Linked DNA regions of Homo sapiens: region 1 is linked to region 2. Evidence: promoter capture Hi-C in 16 types of primary human blood cells and fetal thymus (Javierre and others, 2016). All regions are on one chromosome and are shown on one strand. The core of a region is centred on a gene start or on the middle of the fragment in contact, and the rest is flanking DNA. Distances in the headings are between cores, read along the strand shown. Region 1 has its middle 61 kb from the start of H2AP. Region 2 holds the start of SRPX (sushi repeat containing protein X-linked).

Region 1 (5,006 bases), core at 1,735-4,234, 290 kb before region 2:
TTAAGGCTCTCTGGTTGGGGGAAGAGTTTAATGTAAGATTACCTTAAACCAAATCAAGATACTTTCGAGAACAAAGGGATTCTTATGAGAGACTAAAGCAGGTAAACAAAGGCAGCTCCGACTGATAAAATACTTGTTTGAAGGTGTGTGGAGGAGATGGTGGTATGCAACTTTTAAAAACTGGCAGGGCTAGGTGTGGTGGCTCACTCCTGTAATCCCAGAACTTTGGGAGGTCGAGGCGGGCGGATCACAAGGTCAGGAGATCAAGACCATCCTGGCCAACATAGTGAAGCCTCGTCTCTACTGAAAATACAAAAAAAAATTAGCTGGGTGTGGTGGTGCGCACCTGTAGTCCCAGCTACTCGGGAGGCTGGCAGGAGAATTGCTTTAACCCAGGAGGTGGAGGTTGCAGTGAGCCAAGATTGTACCATTGCACTCCAGCCTGGGTGACAGAACAAGACTCTGTCTCAAAAACAAAACAAAACAAAACAAACAAAAAAACTGACAGAATTCACAGATACTCCTTCTGTCTTATCGTGTACTTGCCCTGGATTCTACTCTATAGCATCAGTCAAGCCACCATAACTTTTCTTGGAAGTGAAAAAATGGCCTGAAAATATGGCTAATCCCCAAGATAACTTTAAAATACTTTCAGAAGTAGTTTCAAAGAAAACACAATGGAAATGGTGAGGTTATACAGGTCTGGCTCAAACCTTGTGTGAGTTGATATGGAAAAGAAAATTTGATTTTATTACTTAAATATTTTACATGAATTGCAAAGAGGAAGTGAAGGCATTACATATATACCTGTCCAGAATCATTCCCTGATTTCATGACATTTCCACATTTGTATCTACTTGTTCACTGCCCATGCATGGGGGCTGTATCAAGTTTTGGGGGTCCTGCACCTTATACTATTTAAGTGGTTGCCATTAAGAAAATGGTTACAAAATAAATATCTCACACATTCAACCTAACTAGTCCCCCTTTCCAGAGAAGGAGCTTTCTCATCCATTCACTGCAGTCCCTTACCTAATACATACCCTCACACCGGGGGTCAGCAAGCTACTGCTTTGTGAGCCAAGCCTGGATCACCACGTTTTTGTATTAGAACATAGCCACATCCATTCAGTTACAGATTGTCTATGGGTACCTTTGTCTTACACTTACCAAGTTGAGTAACTGCCACAGAGACCACAAAGCCCTGCAAAGCCTAAAATATTTACTCTCTGGCCAACTACACAAACTGTTTACCAACTCCTGCCTTACACAGTAGCTGTGGGTTCTAGCCCCACTTCTCTCTGGATCTACCCAAGAGAATCTAAAACAACCATTCACCACATCATAGGATTGTATAAGACATCAGGTTAATCAACTGGACAAACCCTCGTGCCTTTTGATTTTGTCTTCTAAGAAGTCCAAAATCAAATTTAGTCCTTATTATAATAACTCATCCCTGATTACTGGCACAATTATTTTTCCATTTCTCATTAAATTTTATTTTTTCTTTATCTTAGTCCAGTGGTAGTGACTTTTTGGTAAGCCATCTTATTTCTTATCCGGAAGGTGGAATTTAAGTGGTAAGCTAACATGGTAAATTATTATCAGTCTGCCTAATTAGTCATATGTGCTTTAGAATATTTAAAGCAGGACTAAAAGTTGCTATTTTTAAAAAGCTACCTTGGAGTTTGTGCTTGTAACTCCCAAGGTGAAGACAGAATTTATCACTGGGATACCTGAGCTTTTGTGTACACAAGAAAAATAATATTTTAATGCATCTCTTAGTTATGCAGAGGCAAAGCCCAGATCTTACAATGCATAAAAATGTAAAATGTTGTTTTCTTTGGAGTAAGACTGCATCTCTGGAGGATTATTGTGCTATTAATGGGCTTTTCACCTGTTTTTTCTTCCTTAAAGGGAGTGTGTTGTAGGCCCAAGAGTTTGAGAGAGAGCACAAGACAGAGGTCACTAATCTGAGGAGATAAGGGCTTTTCTTCTCAGCAACAGGATGGCATGCTGAGTGGCTAAAGAGGAAGGGGGTCAATATGAGACCTCTGGGAATGAATAAGACCTGTGGGCTCTAGAAAACTCAGAACAGGTTTTAAATCTTTCCAGATTAGTGTTTAAATTACCCTCTGTTTACCACAAAGCTTCAATAAAGTTTTTAAAATAATAGCCTACTGTTTATTTTGCTTTGGTAAAAGATGGGCAAGGCTGTATTATGCTTTGCATCAACTATTGTTGAGATAAGTAGAAGTGAAGAAGGTACCATGCAGAGGAAAACAAAAGGGAGGGGCAGTTACAAAATGGATAGGGGTGGTCTGAGGAGGATTGAAGAGGTGATCCTAGCCTGATCTGAGACAAATGGCCACCTTTGGGAAACCTCAGAAGCATTTGAGGAAATTATTTCCTTTTGCTAAATCAAAAGAGAGATCTCAGAAAGCTGGAATGCCAGAGTTGCTTATGTAAAGCACTTTGACAAATATGTTATTAGATGACTTTAGGGTTATGAATGAGAGACGTGAAAACTATAACTGATTTGGTTTTCATCCTTCTAAAAAGAAAAAAATATAATAAGAATTCAGAATTCAGTCAGGCTGCACAGAGGTTAACTGAAGGAAGTTAGCTGAAAATTAATTGGAATTCGGGGTCGACTTCTAGTTAAGTCAAATGGAACCATTAACTTTAGGGTAAAACCTGAAACCAACAAAGACCAATCCCTCTCAAAAAGATAGAGAGTCTCTTGTTTTCATAGCAAATGTATAAAAGGGTAAGGGCACCTATTAGGGCCTTACCCTAGTAGATTCTGTGTCCTGACAACCTGACCCGTCCGCTGAGATGGTAACCCTGGTTTAACTAGTTGGTAATTCCAGTTTGCTTAAGCATTGAGATTGCTATGTTGAGACAGCTGGTTATCCTTAAATATTATAATTTACTTTTTTATTTTAATAGAACCCCAGATTTTTAGCTGGGCACATGTGTGCTCAGAATCAAGATTATATTTCCTAGCCTTCTTTATAGCCAAGTTTGACCATACGAATATGTTTTTGTCAAAGGGATATAAGAAGTGATGTACAACATCCAGAAGCTATCTCTGAAGAGAGAAAAAGCCTATCTTTATTCTTTCCCTTTTTTCCCTTCTTTGTGGCTGGAGTATAGATAAGATGGCTAGAACTGGAGTAGTCATCATTGGCAATGAGGTGACCTATACTAGAGCAACAAGATAGAAGGAGCCTGGGTCCTTGACATGATGAAACTGCCGTACCAATCTGACTGCCTTTCTCTAGACTTTTACATCAGGGGAAGTACATTTTTCCTTGGTCAGCTACTTTTGCAGGTGAATCTCATCCTGATTAATTTCGCACAAAATGCTCAGCTCCCTTGAAATGAAAACATTGTGTCTTAGTTGTTAAGTTTATTTTCTACCCATGGAACATGAAGAACAAACACAGGGTTTGCATCAGTTATCTCTCTCTACTATAATGCTGTGTAACAACCACAAAATCTCTGTGATGCAACTCAAATTTCCTCCATGTGTCCCTCATCCTCCAGCAGGATAGCCCAGGTATGGTCTCATGGCAATGATAGAGGAAAAAGAGAACAAGTACTTTTTCAAGCCTCTAGTTGTCTCATGTTTGTTAACATCACATTTTCCAAAATAAGACATGTGCCTGGACTCAGAATCAAGGGGTAGGAAAATATATTGTCTCTTGATAGGAGGAACTGCAGTCAATTGGCAAATGGCATGGATACAGGGAAGGGTAAAGAATTTACGTCATTATTTCAATCATTCTAACCTTCATATTAAAGTTTTAAAAATAAGCTTAGAATTAAATTTTGGGATAGGTTTTCATAATAATTGTAATACTGTATCCATTTGGTATTTAATGGTTTTGCAATATCAGAGAGAATTTGGCATGTTAGAGAATATGCAAGACTTAGATTATGATTCCAATTCCAAATGTAAGATTTTGTCATTGATTTTAGTCTTTTGAATGATATTTGGAAAGTGTGAGATAAATTTACTAAGTTAGCAAACAGTACTGAAGGCCTAAGAGAAGTTCAGGTTCACTAGGTCTCAAGTTGAATTTTTAGATTTTCTAGCATTAAGTTTTGTGAAAATATCTTATTTGGTACTCTTCTGAAATGTTAGCCCTTCTAAAAGGCTTTCCCTGACCATTCAATAAAAAGTGACTATATCACTTTACCTTCTCTTCTATAGAGCATTTATCAGTATCTGGAATGATACCATATACTTGTTTATTACCTACTTTACCCACTAAAATACAGTCTCCACAAAGGCAAGCATTTTGTTTTGCTTGCTGCTGTATCCAGAACACTTATAAAGGAGCTTGATATATAGTAGGTGCTCCAAAATTTGCTGAATGACTGAATAAAGCTTTGGTTTTAGGTCATGGCTTTGAAATACTTAAAGAGAAATTTTAATATAATAAATTTATGAATGTAATTCAAATCCTGTAAATTAATTAACTGAATTATAAACAGGGCTAATAGTTTGAGGAGTTCAGTCTGCTCAATTTGAGTTGACTAAATATTAATTAAAGGTTTTCTAGTCAGTGGCTAATAGTTTAAGGAGTTCAGTCTGCTCAATTTGAGTTGACTAAATATTAATTAAAGGTTTTCTAGTCAGTCACTGTTAAAATTTAGTGTGTATAGAAATAGAATAATAGGATTTGCAAACTGGTCTTAAAGACTTATAGGAAAGCTAGCTTGTTAAATGTTGTTTTAGTAATTGAATATTATTTTTAAAAGTAAATTTTAAGAATTAAAAAAATAAAGTAACAATACTGATTATTTCTGAATTAAAAAACTGTGCAAGGACTTAGGAATCCTCATACTGTCCACACGAAGTCTGTATGATGCACATATCGAGGGGCATGGAGCAGTAAACAGCTGAGTCCCAGAGAAGGAGCGAGGAGACATTATTTACTGGGATTGCTGTCACTGTGGAGAATGATGATGGTGTAACACAGGAAATGTAGGGG
Region 2 (5,384 bases), core at 1,781-4,280:
CTGCGAAATGAGTAGTAACTAACAAACAACATTGTACTGTACTGAAAGTGTTATCAATGAAGAAAATGCCAGAGGAAAATGACCTGCTCTCCCCAGCATATTTCCTTTTCATTGCAGAGTACTTTTGTCAGCTGATTACATGTTTTAAATCTAAATAGGAATTCCTAGCCTGTTCCCGGTGACACCTTAATTATATAACCTGAGCTAGGTGCTCCATTCCTAGTACTTATCTCCAAATGTGGTATTTCAAAAGACTGCTTCAGCTGATGTAGTCTGGTTTGGCTTTTAGCAAACCTCACTTGGTTTTCCTGACTAGTAAAACCACGCTACTTTACCAGTTTTCTCCAGATGTAAGATTCACGAAGCCTTTCTTAGAGGCCATGGTACTCATTCTCCATCTTCAGCCTTGTTTGCAGAAGGAGGCAGAGTGAACCACCACTATCTCACATGCAAATACAGCTCTAAGAATTATTTTAAGAACAGAATCTAAATTCTCATCTGTTATAAGCATACAAACACAGTCAAACACAAACAACTTTTCTACAAATTTTCCATACACTTCATGTAGGTTTTTATAGACACTGCATCTTTGCTAGGCTGCAAAAAATAGATCAGAGAGCCAGAAAAGCTGCATTAAATTCTAAGATGGAAGAACTCCAGAGACCTTCTAGGAGTGGGAATGAGAATGATTTACTCTCACTCTGACAGATGTGCTATTCACGTGCAGATAGTTACATAATCGACTTGCTGATGGAGCCCTAGATCTCCATCTTCTTTCAGAAGTTCCAGATTCAAGTCCTTCACTTTCTCTCTTACTGAAGATATGATGTCCACTTGCTAAGAGAGTGTCTCTGAAATGATCTTTAAAATTTGTCACCCAGCACTTAGAGTGAACTCAGCCTATGTGATTTGCTTTCAGACCCAAGGGCCTAGAGATTTTCCCCTCCCCAGCCTTCCAAAGCCTCTGGCTTGGACTGAAATCCCCTCCTCTGGATCTCACAACCTCAGCGGAGCACACTTCCCAAGAGACCCCATTGAGCCATGCCAAAAGGAGGCTCAAGAGGAGTGTTTATCAAGCAGCTCCAATCAGCTTCAGCTCATTTGTGGTCTGAGCAGAGCCGGAGGGCAGGTTAGGAGTCAGTGGAGGTGGTGGCAAGCAGGAACATGGTGGCTAAAAGTTGGGAGCAGCTTGCAGGCTGGCAGAGGGAGCCAGGAAAGCCAGGGATAGGTCCCAAAAGACAGGTGGTAGTGAATGCCCAAACTGGCGAACTCATGATTCTGTGGCTGGGCCCTGGTAGCAAGCTGTACTATATAAAGGTGGAAGATGAGAGAAAGGAGAGGGGAGGGCAGGGGAGGAGAACGGAGGGAGGTCGGATGGAAAAGGAGAAGGGGTCCCCAGCTTGAGAAAGGCTCAACTAAAAGTTGAGGTTCCCAGGCAGCTCACAGGCACCTCCCAACTCAGTGCGGAAAAGCTACCTCTAGCTTCTCACCTTATTTGCCCGCTCCCAGAAAGCTGCTTCTGGGACGCTTAATGACTTCCTCTTCCCCTACAGGTTCATTTTAACCTGATTCCTGCTAAAGGGGGTGGGAGAGGAGGTATTAACACACCATGGGAATAACAGTTGCCTGGCAGTAAGGATAAAATTTCCTTTCCACTTTACCCTGAATCAGTTCCTACAAAGCAGCTTAAAACTTAAGAGTCAGCTCAAAACACAAATGTTCCTGTTTATTAATTTACAAATTTGTTCTATTCATTCATTTATTTAGGTGCGTGCAGAGAATTTCCCGCAGCCATCCCTACATCTCCCAAGCACACTGCTAGAAAGATGGGCATCCTCTATCCTTCTACCAGAACTCAGTAGGTTCATTTCTCATACCCTAGATTTAAGCTGCCCACGGTGTTGAACGCAGAGCCAAATATTTGCACGCCCTATAGCCGACGTCACCCACTTTCCCATTAACACTAAATTAAAACGCATCCATGGATTTCCTCTCCATTCCGAGGCAACAGGAGTGCATGGCACATTGCCCTACTCCCCTGAAGCTCTTCGCTAACCTAAGACTCCAGGGTGAGGAAGTTAGCTGGAGCTTTTTAAAGTGCATCTCCAAAGAGAATTTTGCTCACACCATGAGAGCCCCCAAGAAACACCAGGGCCCCCTTAGATGCCGGAGACCACGCCCTCCAGGAATAAGCCGCACCCTCTGCCCAGCAGATCCTTGCGCGAGTAGCCCTCTTTCCCTGGGGCTAATCAAGTGCATGCCACATGTCACCACTCTCAGCTGGCAATTCTTCCTCAGAGGCGCAGACTTTCTCGGAATCCCCAGCAGGGGGGGTTAAGAGATTCAGGGGAGGCCCCGCCCGTGCCTTCCACAAAAGTCGCTTTACCGTGGCTCGTGTCCTGCGGCCCCAAGGGGGTAGCCTGGGACGTGTAGTGGGAGGGCATAGAGGCTCCTTCCAGGACAAGCTGCCAGCCTCCAGTGGGCAACCATGTGAGAGGCAAAATTCTGGGGGTGAGAAAGTAGCAAACTAGTCTGCGGCCAAACTTTCTCTGTGGAGCCTCCTACACCGAAAAGGGTTTGATTGGAACTCTGGAAGCCCGGACGCAGAAGGTGCTAGGGCTCCCGTCGCCGCGAGGGCGCCCCGCGCCTGGAGATGGGATGGTCAGTTCTTCCCGGCGCGTGCCCAGACACCAGCCCCGATCCGCATCATCCCCACCCTCGGGCTGCGAAAGAGGAGTTCTGCGCAAACAAAGGGCGCCCCCGGCACCTCCCTCTATCCCGAGCGAAGGGTCCCAACGGCGACTCCGGGGGTCTTTGGTGCCCAGCTGAGGAGGCAGCCACGCCTCCGATCCTACCTGGGAAGCTGCGGCTGGGCGGGACGCGCAGCAGCAGCAGCAGCAGCAGAGGCGGCAGCAGCAGCAGCAGCGCGGGCCGATGTGCGGGGCTCCCCATGGCGAGCGGGCGCTTAGCTCGCCTCGGCAGCGCAGCGCGCTTCCCGGGGGCGGCAGGAGACCGAAGAGACCAAGGGACTGCGTGCTAGCGGGCGGGCGAAGGCCGGGCTGGAAAACTCCTCCTCTCGCCTCTTTCCCTCCCTCCTTCCTGCCTGGGGCCTGCCCTCCTTTCTCCGCCCCCCCTGGAACACTGCGCGGTTCGGGGCTCTGACCCACCCACCTCCTCCTTTTGTGCCAGCGCTTTTTCTGGCCAGAGAGCGCTGGAGACAAGCCCCAGCAGAGCGAAATATCCTGAAGTAGCTTTCTTTGCCCCAATTTGCGCGCCCCCTCACCCGGAATACACACACGGTATTCAATACAACCGCCTCGAACATCCCAGACGTCTAGAAGGATACCATCTGTGCAGAAAGCTGCGTGAGTCACACGGAAACAGAAGGGGCAACCGAGGGGATTCAGAGTGGCCCACTGCGGCCGGATACTATGGCCATGTTCTCTGTTTTGATCCTCACGACCATGCCCCAAGTTCGCTATTACCATGTCCACTTTCTCCAATAAGACACCGACGCTTAGAAACTTGCCCAGATTCACCCCCGTTACTGGCAGAGCAGGGACTGGAACTTAGGTGTGTAGTTCTGCCGACGTCAAAGTCCATACTACAGATTTTTTGTTAGTTTGTTTCTCTTTTGCAAAGGAATAAATCAAGGACTGGACCGGGTGCGTGCCTGCTCTGCTGCGGTTTAGGATGGGGCTTGAGGTTCTCCTTCCAGGATCAGCTGATGGGAGAGCACAAGGCACAGAAAGTTCTCTGTCTCACCCACAGCCATGGGGATCCAGCTGTAGGTTCCTGCAGCCAGATTTCCTCATTTCCTGGGTTGTTCTCAACCACCCCAAAGATACCACGACCAGACTGGAGCCTCTTCCCTGTGGCTTGGCATCGCTGGATCCTGGCATCAGGACAGGGTTTCTAGGCTGCCCGCAGGACGGATCTGGTTTCTTTGAGGCATTTGAGTAAGCCTCTCATAGTTTTGTTTGTTTGTTTGTTGTTTTGGTTGTTTAGTTCTTGTTAAATCAGTAAGGCAATACGTTGCCCCTTTGCTGTCTCAGAAAGATCTTAGCTAAGGCAAATTTTAGTTGGAGTTGCTGCATTAGGTTGTGCAGTTTGGGCACTGTACAAAGGCATCCAGAGGAAGGGGCAAGTGGGAGCCAAAATCCAAATGCCTTTGGGTTCAGGGAGCTTTGCGTCTTGGCAGGGGCCACATCCACTAGAAGGGCATCTTTCTCTCTGCCACAGTAGTCTGGTCTGATAGCTAGGCTAAGAGCCCTGGGGGCACTCACCTAGAAGTTCTGAATTTGTTTATCCAGAAGGAGTGCCATTTCCCAATTCTCACAAAAGCCCCAGACTTGAACGTCCATCTTACCCTCTCTAGCACTTGGGGGGACTTCGCTCCATCTCCTGTGGGTTTCTCCACTGCTGCTACCTCTTCAGGGAACCAACAACCCTTAAATAACCCCCTAGTCGCAAGGAAATGGGGGAGGTCAGTCTATTCTGTGGCCTCCATCAGACCAGACTTTCCAGGGAGTCATTCTCAACCTTGTTTATGTGGGTCACCTGGGGAGCTTCATGAAAATACCATATCCAGGCTCTACCTCACACTAATAAAATCAGAATCTTTAGGAATGTGACCTGGAGTTTGACCAGATGCATATTTTTGTCTCTCCCCAATCCGCTAAGCTCCACGGTATAAGTTTTAGTATAGGATAAAAATTCTAGACCAGGAGTTTCTCAACTTGGGCACTATTGATATTTGGGGCTAGATGATTCTTTCTTGGGGAGGGGGACTGCCTTGCACGTTGAGAGATGCATCGATGGCCTCTATGCAACAGATACCACTAGCAATCCCCCTTTCCCCAGTTATGGCAGCCAAAAAAATGTCTCCAGACATTGCCAAATGTCCCCCAGGGGAAAAATGCCCCCAATAGAGAACTACTTCTTTAGGTCTGTAAACAAGGGTTAATGTGCACCCCAAATTCCAGGTCCAGGATAGCCTGGCCAGCAGCCTTCCTTTCCTATGTCACCTCTGAAGCAATGTGTCTTCACCACAACCAGTATACATTCTATTACTGGGCTGAGAAGGAACTTCTAGCTCACTTCTATCCACTGATTCTGGCTGGATTACAAGAAACACCACACTTACTGTTGACTTGCTCTCTGGCCTTTGAATGTCCTCACCACAAAGAAAGAAATCAGAAATGGATGAGGTGATGGTCACGCAAAATACTGACTTGACGCTTGGTGCAGTGGCTCATGATTGTAATCCCAGCACTTTGGGAGGCCAAGGTAGGCGGATCACTTGAGGTCAAGAGTTTGAGACCAGCCTGGCCAATATAGTGAAACCCCATCTCTACTAAAAATACAAAAATTAGCCGGGAGTG

What was found. The method cuts DNA at HindIII sites, captures the fragments that hold promoters and counts their contacts. A CHiCAGO score of 5 or more calls a contact.
Region 1: a contact is called between a fragment that was not itself captured here and the fragment with the promoter of SRPX in region 2, in 4 of 17 cell types (M0 macrophages, M2 macrophages, M1 macrophages and 1 more). The highest score is 6.4, in M0 macrophages.

Annotation. Positions count from the first base shown.
Region 1 is chrX:37,927,307-37,932,312 of GRCh38, forward strand. It overlaps a transcript of SYTL5 not described here. Among named protein-coding and RNA genes, the nearest start is that of H2AP, 61 kb to the right of the region's middle. The HindIII fragment of the contact is 1,673 bases long and covers 2,149-3,821 here.
Region 2 is chrX:38,217,841-38,223,224 of GRCh38, forward strand. It overlaps SRPX (sushi repeat containing protein X-linked), which reads right to left and starts at 3,031. Exons shown (of 10, transcript NM_006307.5): 1 at 2,856-3,031. The coding sequence starts at 2,952. It overlaps LOC124905176 (a long non-coding RNA gene), which reads left to right and starts at 3,068. Exons shown (of 2, transcript XR_007068212.1): 1 at 3,068-3,959. The HindIII fragment of the contact is 8,549 bases long and covers 1-5,384 here.